Linked DNA regions of Homo sapiens: region 2 is linked to region 1. Evidence: promoter capture Hi-C in human tissues and cell types (Jung and others, 2019). All regions are on one chromosome and are shown on one strand. The core of a region is centred on a gene start or on the middle of the fragment in contact, and the rest is flanking DNA. Distances in the headings are between cores, read along the strand shown.

Region 1 (5,956 bases), core at 3,438-5,937:
AACCAGCTAAGTTTGGTATTTTTAGTAAAGACAGGGTTTCACCATGTTGGCCAGACTGGTCTCGAACTCCTGGCCTCAGGTGATATGCAGGTCTCAGCCTCCTAGAGTGTTGGGATTATAGGTGTGAGCCACTGCACCTGACCCATTGTTTCTTGCCTTTGGAGATGACTGTGATGTCTGGAGTTGTTGACAACCATCTTGCGGCCATGAGGCAATAAACATAAAAATGTAAGGCCAATATGCTAAGGAAGGCAGGGCAGAAGGAGAGAAAGAACCTGAGTTGGCTGGGTGCTGTGGTTCATGCCTGTAATCCCAAATACTCAGGAAGCGAGAGGATTGCTTGGGGCTGGGAGTTCAAGACCAGTCTGGGCAGCATAGCAATACCCTGTCTCTAAGAAATTAAAAAAGCTTAGCCAGGAGGATCCCTGGGGCCCAGGCTGCAGTGAGCTATGATGAAATCATGCCACTGTACTCTAGCCTGGTCTCAAAAACAAACAAACAACAACAACAACAACAACAAAAACAAAAAGAAAAAAAAGAAATGAAAGAACCTGAGTCCTGGATGTCATTTTTAAGTTAGAGTTAATTCTGAGATTACCTATCTCTACACTTTGAGTTAAGTAACAATAAATGTTCTTGTGGTTTAAGCCACTGTTAGTTGCACTGTTAGTTGAGTTTGTGATAACTTACAGAGGAAGGTGTTCCTTACTGATACAGAGGGTTTGTATTGAGTAGTAGCAATAGGATAAAATTGTTTTTTTCTATGTTGGATGAGTGACTCATCACCAGGGTTCTAAACATACTTTCTGGTAGTTGTATCTTTTTAGCCTAAGTGAAATTTTGGTCCATCAATATATCAGTTAGGTTTTCACAAGAAACAAGTGACACCCTTGGCACAGAGGGATGATTAAAGAGAGTTGAAGGCTGACTACAAAGGTACAATCAGCGTTAAGGGAAATTAACAGAGGGCAATGAAGTACCCTGAGGCTAGACACAATAAGTTAGGCCATCACACACCCTGTGGGCCCTGCCTAAAGGGACAAGGCGGGGAGTGGGTCCCAGAATCCAGTGAGAGCTGGGCTCTAGACAAGGAGCTGTGGCCTTACGTGAAGTGTTGAAGCCACTGCCACCCTGCAGCCCCACAGGGAGGGAGCCAGGGGAATGCAGCCTTGAGCTGTTTCTCAGCCCACCCTGCAGAGTCCAGCCAGGGCCTCCCATTGGCTAAACCCTGCCAGAGGCAAAAGACCAGGAGTCAGGAGAGGAAAGCCGGACAAGTCAGCATAAAGATGGGGGTGGGGCCGGGCGAGGTGGCTCACACCTGTAATTCCACCAGTTTGGGAAGCTGAGGGGGGTGGATCACCGGAGGTCAGGAGTTCAAGACCAGCCTGACCAACATGGAGATACCCGGTCTCTACTGAAAATACAAAATTAGCCAGGTGTGGTTGGCACATGCATGTAATCCCAGTTGCTCGGGAGGATAAGGCAGGAGAATTGCTTGAACCCGGGAGGCCGAGGTTGTGGTGAGCTAGGATGGTGCCATTGCACTCCAGCCTGGGCAACAACAGCGAAACTCTGTCTCAACAACAACAACAAAAAAGATGGGGGTGGGGAACGGGGAAGGGGAGAGATGGAGCAAAAAGAGAATAATCAGAACTATTAATAATTAGACTCCACAGCTGTTTTGTGCTAATGTAAATTTGTCACTACTTCCAAGCTGTACCTTCTAGCACCAAAACTCCTCAGCTACCAAAGACATGGCTTACTCCATGTCTCAAGAAATTAAAACATTTCATTTCAAATGCCTTTTGAATTTCAGAATCTCGTTGGATGACTGGTGATATTAGGTAATGCTAAGTCTCATTCATAGAAATTTTTGCAAAGAGGGAATTGCAAAAGAAATTTTGCAATTCTTGCTTGCAAGCAATAAACTGTAGGCTATAATAAATGGGCCACTCTGGGCCTCCAGTTAAGTATCTGTGGCCTCTGCTGGCACTGGGCTGCATGTTGCTTGTATTCATTACCTTGGGAGAGACTTGCTCCGATTTTATTGGCGGCAATGTACTTGGCTCTTTTCTGAGGTCTGTTATTGAGCACAGATTTTCCCTTATTACTCTCACATTTTGAAGAGGAGTGAGCAATTACATGGGCATAGAAAGTACCCCAATAATGACAAAAGTACAATAAGAACTAGGACTTGAGATTTCCTGTATGTCATAGTGTGTCCCTGAGCATTACAGAGAGTGCCCTATTAAATGTGACCATTAAGTCAATGGCTCATGAGGTTCAGCAATTCATCAGCTGTGATGCTCTGTTACTGGGGTCAGGAAAGATTGAGAAACTTGTCCCTTTGGGACAGTAGAGCACAGATTAACACCACTTTTTAAGTGTTATATACTACAATGTAATAATAATAGAAATAAAGTGCACAATAAATGTAATGTGGTTGAATCATCCCGAAATCACCCCCTTCACCCTTCACCCCGTTCATGGAAAAACTGTCTTCCACGAAAGCAGTCCCTGGTGCCAAAAAGGTCGGGGACTACTTCTCTGGATGTCTTGATGAAATACATACATTTCAGACGCGGATAAACCCCACAAAAATTCAGGAGCTTGCTACATTGGTGATATTTTAAAATAATTATTTAAAAAACTGGGGGGGTAGTTTTAGACTTAGGAGAGATGTAAAGAGAGTACAGGGATTTTTCCATATATTCTTTACCTAGCTTCCCCTTATGTCAACATCTTGTGTAAGCATAGAACATGTATCAAAACAAAGAATGATCCTGGTACAATAGCATTATGTAAACTATACATCATTTTGGATGCTGAAGTGGTCCAATGATCTTGGGCACGTCAAGACATTTTCCCCAGAATGAAAAACATGTTACTACACCTTGCACCTCTGCCAAAAAGAAAGAAGCATGACACTTAGCAGATCTCTGAGTTTAGAAATCAGCATATTTTGCCCTTGGGAATTCTGTTCCTATCCCTTTAGCAGTTGACGTGGAAGGTGGCTACTGATCAGTAGCTCAGATCAAGAACGGGCTCAGGGCCAGGCGCGGTGGCTCAAGCCTCTAATCCCAGCACTTTGAGAGGCCAAGGTGGGTGGATAGCTTGAGCTCAGGAGTTCGAGACCAGCCTGGCAACATGTTGAAATCCTGTCTCTACAAAAAACACAAAATTAGCTGGGCATGGTGGCAGATGCCTGTAGTTCCAGTTAGTCTGGAGGCTGAGGTGGGAGGATTGCTTGAGTCCAGGAGGCAGGGGTTGTAGTGGGCCACAATCATGCCACTGCACTCCAGCCTAGGTGACAGAGCGAGACCCTGTCTCAAAAAAAAAAAAAAAAAAAAAAAAAGCAAAGAAAAGAAAAAAGAAAGAGCCCAGCACTGTCCTCTGTGGTTAGGGCGGTAAGGGCAACCTTGCCTCTTGGGCTGTATCACCGGACACACCTCACAATGCTAGAGCTCTCTGCAATGGAGCTGCAAAGGCTATGAGGAACCTCCGGCAAGCCCCCAAAGAACCACAGTAGAGCCCTTGAAGGTTCTGGAGCATAGCCAGGCCAACTCTTAACAACAACAAAAAAGAATTGGGAGATCTTTTATTCCAGTAATCTTATTTTAAAGGTAAAAAGGAGGCCTAAAGTCATAGGCATAATTGGCAGAATTGACTTTTGTTCTGGTGTTTCTCTCTGTAGTCATTCTTCACTTTCTGATGCAATTTTAGCACATCTTAAATATTAAAATGTTTTGGAACAAACTTAGAGAAATTATGAAGCTAATTTAGGAAAAGAGCACAAGAATCTTTGATTTACAGGCAATTTGGGGATATAATTTAGCTATATTGAAGCTATGCAGCCAACATGTAGATGGTCATTATTATTACACCATAAATTTTGTGAGGTCAGGAACCTTGTAATTTTAAAAATATTCACTCTGTGCTTTGTTGAATAAACGGATAAAACGTATAGACATACATGAACTACTGATGAGTGGCTGTGTGTGATGTGTAGCTATGTTTATTATTTTTAAGATTCTTATTGTATTTGTTGAAGGCCAAGTTGAGGAGGGAATTGCTTAAGGGAAATGAAAAGGGGTTTAACCACAGTCCCCACCATTCAGGGGCATGCAATCTAGTAGGTTAGGGGACAGGACAGACACACCATGATAGGTGATCGAGACCTTTTAAGAGCAGTGTGATGAAATTGCTATGGGAACTGGGAGGAAACATTTTCTAGGACTGGGGAAACACTGAGTGTGCTAGAAAAACTTTGTGCTCCTGATCAGGGAACCTGGGTTCTATAACTGCTTCTACTACTGATTTGTCCTGTGACTTCGCGCACCAAATTTAGGCTTGTAAATTAAACTCCCAGATTTCTGTTTTCCATTTTGCAGCTCTAGGGGTTGAATGAACCATTAGGTTCCCTCGGACAAATGACCTCCGCTAATTTCCTATTTCGTTGTTTTCTCACCCCTACACCCCACCGTTCCGTGGGTCCCTCCTCTCCAGGAGGCCAGACGAGGAAATAAGCGAGGCCTCTTTAAAGGAGCTCTCAAAGAAAGGTACCCGGGGTATCCCGGGCTGTGGAGCAAGCGCGGGGCGCCGGGGACCCGGGTTTCCCACGCAGCCGGGGACGCCGTTGCGTCACGGCGCCTGCAGCCAATCAGGACGTAGCCTTCCGGGACGCATTACTAGGGCGACGGCCGGACGCCTCCGCGTTACGGGATGAATTAACGGCGGGTTCCGCACGGAGGTTGTGACCCCTACGGAGCCCCAGCTTGCCCACGCACCCCACTCGGCGTCGCGCGGCGTGCCCTGCTTGTCACAGGTGGGAGGCTGGAACTATCAGGTGGGGTTACGGCGCGAGGAAAATGGCGGCGGCCGGGGGATCTCAGAGGTGCAGGAAGGGGAGCTGCAGCCCGGGCTTTTCCTCCTGAGCCATGGACCTTCCCCGGGCCGCGACCTCGGGTAACGGCCACTGGCCTGGCATTTGGGGTCCCGGTGCAGGTGGCGGTAGCGTCGCTGGCTCAGGTGGAAGGAGGCGCGGGGAAGCGACTCCTGGAGGCTGGCTGAGGCGTCAGGTGCTGAGGGGCCGCGCGAGCGGCGAGGGCGAGGTAGCCGCGGGGCGAAGAGGGTCCCGTCGGTGTTTACGCTAGGAGCGTCAAAACCTTCCTCCTGCGACCTCAGCGGGTCTGGGAGCTGCACTGTCCCGGAACGCAACCTGAGGTCTGACCCTGTTAAATCCCATGCACTAAAACGTCTCAAGTGGTCACCACGTGCGGGGCTTCGACGAGAGCCGTGGAGAGCAGGGGCTGGGGTTGTCTTCCCTGCGAGTCCTGCAGGCGCCAAAGGCCTGCCTGTAGGTGCCAGAGTGGCAGTGCCGCGAAAAGAAAGGTAGGCCCTAGCCAGGGCGGATGCCAAACCTGATCTTTAAGGTGTATCGTAGCTTCTAATTGCCCATTTGAAGAAAAGAAGTTGAAAGATAAGGCACTTAGATGTGGTTGTGGAGATGTTTTGCTTTCTTGTACTTCCCTGGTTCAGGTGGCTTCCCTGGAAATACTGCATCTGCCTTTAAAGTTCATTAACTGTGTTTCTTGTGTACATGGCAGTAGATGAGATTAGGGATTGAAGTCACTTTAAGTCCAAGAAAAGTATTGAAGATATGTGTTGAAGGCATTACCAAGATGAAATATTTATTCATATCATTAACTTATTTGTTCAAAGAAACGTCATCTCATGAAGTATAACTACGTGGGTTAGTTTTCAAAAAACTGACTTGATGAAAGCCCTTTTTGTAAAACATATTTTTTGAGAGTAAGTAAAAATACATCATCACTTTTTCGTTTAGGTTTCTGTTGCACATTGTACTTTGATATGCTTGATATGACAGATAAGCATAATGTTAACTGACTTTTGTTTTTGGTAGTAGGCTTGATTTTATGGAGTAGTACCTTGTTCT
Region 2 (6,333 bases), core at 3,683-6,182, 290 kb before region 1:
GTCTGTGTTTTAGTGCAAGGTTCATTGTGATGCTTGTTAATATGCTGGTTTTCCTTTTACTAGCTGCACATTGTCATTATATTCACCATTTGTTTTTTATTCCCTATTAAACTTTCATAATGTTTAAGGGGAGTCATAATGATTTTTGTGATAACATTTCTAGTGACATTAAGACCGCCTAATGGCTGGGGAAGTTCATAGACCTAGAAGGAATGGAATTTCCTTTTAAATTTGTAATGGAATTCCCCCAATCTTAAGACAACAGTAGATTCTCATTATGAACATGCATTCTGGATTTTTTTTTCCACAGTGGCAGTTACATTAGCTCTGCATGCCATTGGAAAGATGTATAATAAATATTTAAAACACAGGCGCTGATAACTATACCTGAGAATAAATTATGTTTTAAATTAAAACTGTGGTATATTCTTGACTATATCTAGATCTTTAAGAATACTGTTTAGGATAATTAGTTATGATGGATTTAAGAACTTGCATATAGTAACTTCCCTAACTTTTGAATGTTATAAAGTGTTACCCTAGTTTCAGACATATGTTTCAAACTTACATCTTTTCAGTGTTTCAGCACTTTTATGATTTATTGAATCAGTAAGATTTCTTAAAGATAATCAAGTTATGTATGGGAAAGCTTATCTTTCCCTTATTCTGTTCTCATTGCTTTAGCCTTATGCCAGCCTGGACCATCTTGGAGGCAGTGTAGGATCATGGAAGAACTTTGAATTAGGTGAATTGCATTCTGTACTTTTCTGTAGTTAACAGCTTTGTAACCTTTGACCAGTTAATAACCTTTTTAGCCTTGACTTGGATGATCTGTGAAGTGATGGTAACAACCTCACAGAGCTGTGACAATTTTGAAATAAGTACCTAGTAACAGTGCTCCCTAGACATTGACTTAAAGTTAGTCATCACCTCTATAGTTGTAGATGCACCTGGTGATCACAGACCTACTCACTCTGTGTTCTCAAACCAGACTACTCTCTTCTTGTTTTCTAATTGCCCCTTTATCTACTTGTATCCCACTGAAACCTCACAATTCTTTTCTGAAATTATACATGCTCAGAACGTATACTTAACATTTATGCTAAACCTTTTTTCTCACCTCTCTGCCAGTGCTTTACATCATTCATTTTCTGAAATTCCACTTTCCATTTTCTTTTTCCACACCAGCCATAAGAGAAGTGACACTATTCTTTGGCCTTGGCTAATAGGTTTACTTCCTTGGCTCACTGCTTTAAAATCTTCTTAGCTTAGGCATGCCTGTTTATTTGTTCAGTGTGTGAACTTTGGATCTTTTTGTTCAGGATCAGCTATTTCACACATCGAGTACTACAAAGCAGAGATTACATAAATACGTATACAAATTGTTCTCTATGACACCCCCCAAGTAGGTGCTAACATGATTATTATAATGCATTTGTTATCCTTTTCTATTTGCTCCTAGGTTTTTAGAACTTCAGCCATAAAAATGGGCAGAATTTTCCTTGATCATATCGGTGGTACCCGTCTGTTTTCTTGTGCAAACTGTGATACGATCCTGACCAACCGCTCAGAACTCATCTCCACTCGTTTCACAGGCGCCACTGGCAGAGCATTTCTTTTTAACAAGGTTAGTGAGAAAAAGTTTGATTCCTAAGTGGGCTTATTGGCTGTATTTGACAGCAACACCAGAATACCCCCTCAGAGCTTAGAGATACCAGGAAGAGTCAGAATGAGAGCTTGAAATCTACAGAAATGATTGCCCACTAGCTCGTCTTTGATGGGACCTTAGGAAGGTGTTACTAGGATGTGATTTTAACCTTGGAAGTTTGAAGAAGTAGGCTGGGCACAGTGGCTCATGCCTGTAATCCCAGCACTTTGGGAGGCCGAGGTGGGCAGATCACGAGGTCAGGAGTTCAAGACCAGCCTGGCCAACATGGTGAAACACCATTTTTACTAAAAATACAAAAATTAGCTGGGCGTGGTGGTGTGTGCCTCTAGTCCCAGCTACTCGGGAGGCTGAGGCAGGAGAAACACTTGAACCTGGGAGGCGGAGGTTGTGGTGAGCCGAGATAGCGCCACTGCACTCCAGCCTAGGCAACAGAGTGAGACTCAGTCTCAAAAAAAAAAAAAAGTATAAAGAAGTGTGATCTCTGTTGCCTCAGGAAATGTTCAGTGTAAGAATTTGGTAGCAACTTCAGCACAGACTATGGAAGGAACAGGTCAAGATACCCACCTCCCTTTCTCCACATGTCACTGGTTTATCCATATAGGGAGATGGTGGCGTTAAACTATTATAACTTGACAGCGAATAACGATCATCTAACCAACTTTTCATGCTCTAATTCATGCTCACCAATCATCCTTCCATGGATTTGCTGACAGGAAGAGTGTTTTTCTGATTTGCAAGTGTGTGCCCAGTCTGCCTGTCTCTCTAATTTCTGGCTTGCTTTCAAATTGGATGCCGTGATTCTGCCTCCCGGAATCTGGTATATAATAGAAAAGTTGAATTTCCAAGTATTTTAGGCTAAGGAACATAGCTAGTCTAGGGTACTGTTCTTAGAAGATCAGATGAACTTCCCCAGTGGGCACTCCTCTGTTCCATGTAGAAGCAGCTTTTCTCAGAATTGATGGCTCATACTCTTTGACATTTATTTTGGTACAGAGGAGGGCACACTGCAGCAGGACAGCTGCCTGTTTTGGTAAATGTAATGGAACACAGCTCTGCTTGTGCATTACGTATTGTCTACAGCTTCTTTCATGCTACAGTGCCAGAGTTAAAAAGTTGCAGCAAAGACCACATAGCCGTCAAAGCCAGAAATATGTACTATCTGGCCCTTTACAGAAAAGGAAAGTGTAGAAGATTGTTGGGTATTCAGAATCAGTGGAAATTCATTACACATTGTCTCAGACCCACTTCATTGTGTTCATTGTCTTTGAATTCACTTTAAAACTATGTACTGCAGATGTATGGTCTTTAGTAGGCTTAATCTGTCCCAGTCTATATATACAGTATATTTTCAGAAACAAACTGACAGACTGTTTTATGGAATAACTATGGTGCATTAGGTTCTTTTACATGGATTGTATTATTTGCACTCATCATTGAATAATGATGAATTACTACAACTGGACCCAAACCTACATTTTATGGCTCCAATTCCAGGACTTTTTCTTACCTGCAACACAGAAATGTAACTAGTATGTTTAAATAGTGTGACTTAGGCTAGTACGGTAGTGCATGATTGCATTAGATGTCTAGTGTAGTGCAATTTCCAGATGTCTGCCTGCCCCAGCAGCTTCTAATAAATAAGTCTTGCGTATTATAGGTTTGACTAAACTAACAAGTTCTTTCTCCTTTTCTGAAGTTGCTGTTGCATTAACCATAATATTTTGTACATACTTGGCAAATAACTAACATGCCTTGCAATTTTGATTTTCCTTGTCCCTTGTTAGGTAGTTAACCTGCAGTACAGTGAAGTTCAAGATCGGGTCATGCTCACTGGCCGCCACATGGTTCGAGATGTGAGCTGCAAAAACTGCAATAGCAAACTGGGATGGATCTATGAGTTTGCCACTGAAGACAGCCAGCGATATAAGGAAGGCCGCGTGATCCTGGAACGTGCTCTAGTTCGAGAGAGTGAGGGCTTTGAGGAGCATGTACCATCTGATAACTCTTGAAGATACAGAGAGAAATCCATCTTTTCCCAGGTCTCCTTCACTGAAAACAAAAATCTACTTACATACACTGTCACCTTAGCATCAGAGTCGGATTAATGAACTGCGGAACAAGAGGTTGTGAGAATCTAAGATGGAACCTTTCTTTCTTTCTTTCTTTTTTTTTAAATTTTGTATTTTCCATCCAACAGCAGTGTGTAGAGAGAATATTATGCAGATGCCGTTAATTTTTTACCCTATGTTTACATCTTGAGGCAGCAGAGTCTGTCTGCAGCTATGTGGTGAGCTATGTAAGGAAAAAAATCTGGGCTGTTAGAGTGAAAAAGTGTGTTTTATGTCAATTGTGAAAGGAAAATGTTAGGAGTATGGTTTTTAAACTTGGGCTTCATTTTAAACTTTTTTTTTTAAACCCAGTTATTTCACTTGATTTGCTAGCTTCAGAGAAGAGATCCGAATCTGTGCCCAGCGCTAAAGGCTCAGTGTTAGCATGGCTTGTGCTGGCCGGTGTGCCATATTCTTGTTGGAGATGAACCGTAGCACCAGAGCCCATTCTTCCTTGTCAGTCTTGGCCCAAAGATGTCACCATTCCTAGTTATTTGTCACCACATAATTGGTGTTGATTGGAAACTTTTTCTGAGATGGGACAGAACTGCTGGGTTGTCTTTTTCCATGTAACTTAAGCATAGTAATATAAATAAAGTAATAGTTGGATGCTTTTGGTCCTGTGTTGCTTTTAAAAACACCTTATAAAAGAGGAGAGTATTTGATAAGCAATTTTCATAGTAGTAAAGTTTTTTTTCATCTCTTAAACTAAATTGACCATGCATATAATATTCTTTGTTTAAATGAAAGCATACTGTTGAAACCCGCAGTGTTGCATTTAGAAAACAGTTGAACAGAATGTCAATGTGCATTCATGCAAAAAAACATTTAATCTGCATCTGTTTTAGAAAAGGGGGAAATGAAGCAACTTGTCTAAAAATACTGCTTTACAAAGCATTTCAGCCTTTCCCCCTCAGTTTTGCATTGATTTTTTGACAAGTCTGTAGAGCCTAATAGTTTCCATCAAAGGCCTAGATCTCTTATTTAGCATTTTTTTCAGCTCTTCTCTCAGAAGTTCAGCTGTTGAAACGAAAACTGTACTTTGTACCCTCACATACAAAGGGATCAAATTTGACCTGGTGTTATTTTAGCCCCAAATTTATGACATTACACAATATTAAAATGTAAATGTTTCTTTACCCAAACTACTTCTAGATATTCTAGTATTTGCTTCTGGTGGAATTAAATGACGGTAAAATTGGCTAATTATTTGAATGAATGAATGGATGGATGTTTTGCATGCTCAATTTCTAGGTCCTTTGTCTAGAAAGGAAATTTGCCTCAGTTGAATTAGTGAAATATTTCTGTCGTTGATATTAAAAGTGACTTCTGAGTACAGTTAAGTTCCTCCTATTTGCCACTGGGCTGTTGGTTAGAAGCATAGGTAACTGATTAAGTAGGTATGATACTGCATTTGAAATAAGTGGACACAAACTATCCTTTCTCCACCATGGACTCAATCTGAGAACAACAGCATTCATTTCCATTCATTTCCATACTGGCTTTTGATTATATGCAGATTCCTAGTAGCATGCCTTACCTACAGCACTATGTGCATTTGCTGTCACAATAAAGTATATTTTGTCTTGCATTGATGCAGTACTGCTGCTTATTTTCCACTGATCTTGTCTAGTGATCATCTTAATTTTTATCTCTGAACACATACTTGGTATCTTTGAGTACCTGTAGCTTTCTTCATTTGGCAATGATAGTGATGTCTGACTTGATTAACTGCCTAATTCACACATGAAGACATTGACTTTGCCAGTATTAACTTCTCTGAGATCATTTTGCCTTAGATACTGATAACTATAGTTCAGTATATATAAACAAAAAAATTTCATATTACTAGGTTAACTTTTAGGTAACTGGCAGGTACCAGCAGCAAGCTCCTCTGTGCCTTTTAAAAACTTCCATTTGCAAAAAAAAAAAAAATATATATTGGAAGGTCTACTTTGGATTATTTACAGAAAACCATTGTTATTTTGAGATGGGGATACTAATTAATAGGAATGATTTTTGCTTTGGGGTGGGAGAGTTAAACAAGTAGAGGTGAACTTAGAACTAAGTAGGTTACTGAGGAATATACAGATTTAAGCTTTTTTTCCCCTGACCGAAGAGGAAAATTCTTCCTCTTAGTCTTAGGTGACAGTAACCGTAAGTTGTTTTGATCTTAAAGTGCTTTTATTTAGACTCTCAAGTGAACATTCCTGGTAAAAATAATTTTAGTAATTATGTGAAGATTTAAGTTACAGTTAGGAGTTGTTACTTTGGGATTGGAGGAGAAAAATATCAGTACCATCTGTTTCCTAAATTTGCCTACTCATAAAGTCATATAGGATGTTTAAATCAGAGTCTGGGCCCAAGCCCAGGCTTAAGTCAGTCAACAGGTAATTTTTGGTGGGGCAGAATTAAGAAACTACCAGTTGTAAAATATTCAGACATGTTTATGATGATTCATTTCTAAACATCAGTTATAAAAAAATCTCAGTTTAAACAGATATCCACTAATTGTTCATCTGTTTAACACCTGTTTCCTACCAGGAGCCATATAAA

Evidence for each region. Contacts are between HindIII fragments. The study calls those that stand out against the background at their distance.
Region 2: a fragment that was not itself captured here is called in contact with the fragment with the promoter of LCLAT1 in region 1 in 1 of the 25 tissues and cell types used here (thymus).

What each region holds. Positions count from the first base shown.
Region 1 is chr2:30,442,559-30,448,514 of GRCh38, forward strand. LCLAT1 (lysocardiolipin acyltransferase 1) reads left to right here and starts at 4,688. Exons shown (of 6, transcript NM_001002257.3): 1 at 4,688-4,825. RefSeq lists enhancers at 4,378-5,115, 4,419-4,488, 4,529-4,588, 4,799-4,918, 5,116-5,852 and 1 more. The HindIII fragment of the contact is 9,254 bases long and covers 1-5,956 here.
Region 2 is chr2:30,155,166-30,161,498 of GRCh38, forward strand. It overlaps YPEL5 (yippee like 5), which reads left to right. Exons shown (of 3, transcript NM_016061.3): 2 at 1,463-1,627; 3 at 3,454-5,368. The coding sequence starts at 1,487. The coding sequence ends at 3,678. Among named protein-coding and RNA genes, the nearest start is that of YPEL5, 11 kb to the left of the region's middle. The HindIII fragment of the contact is 3,341 bases long and covers 3,263-6,333 here.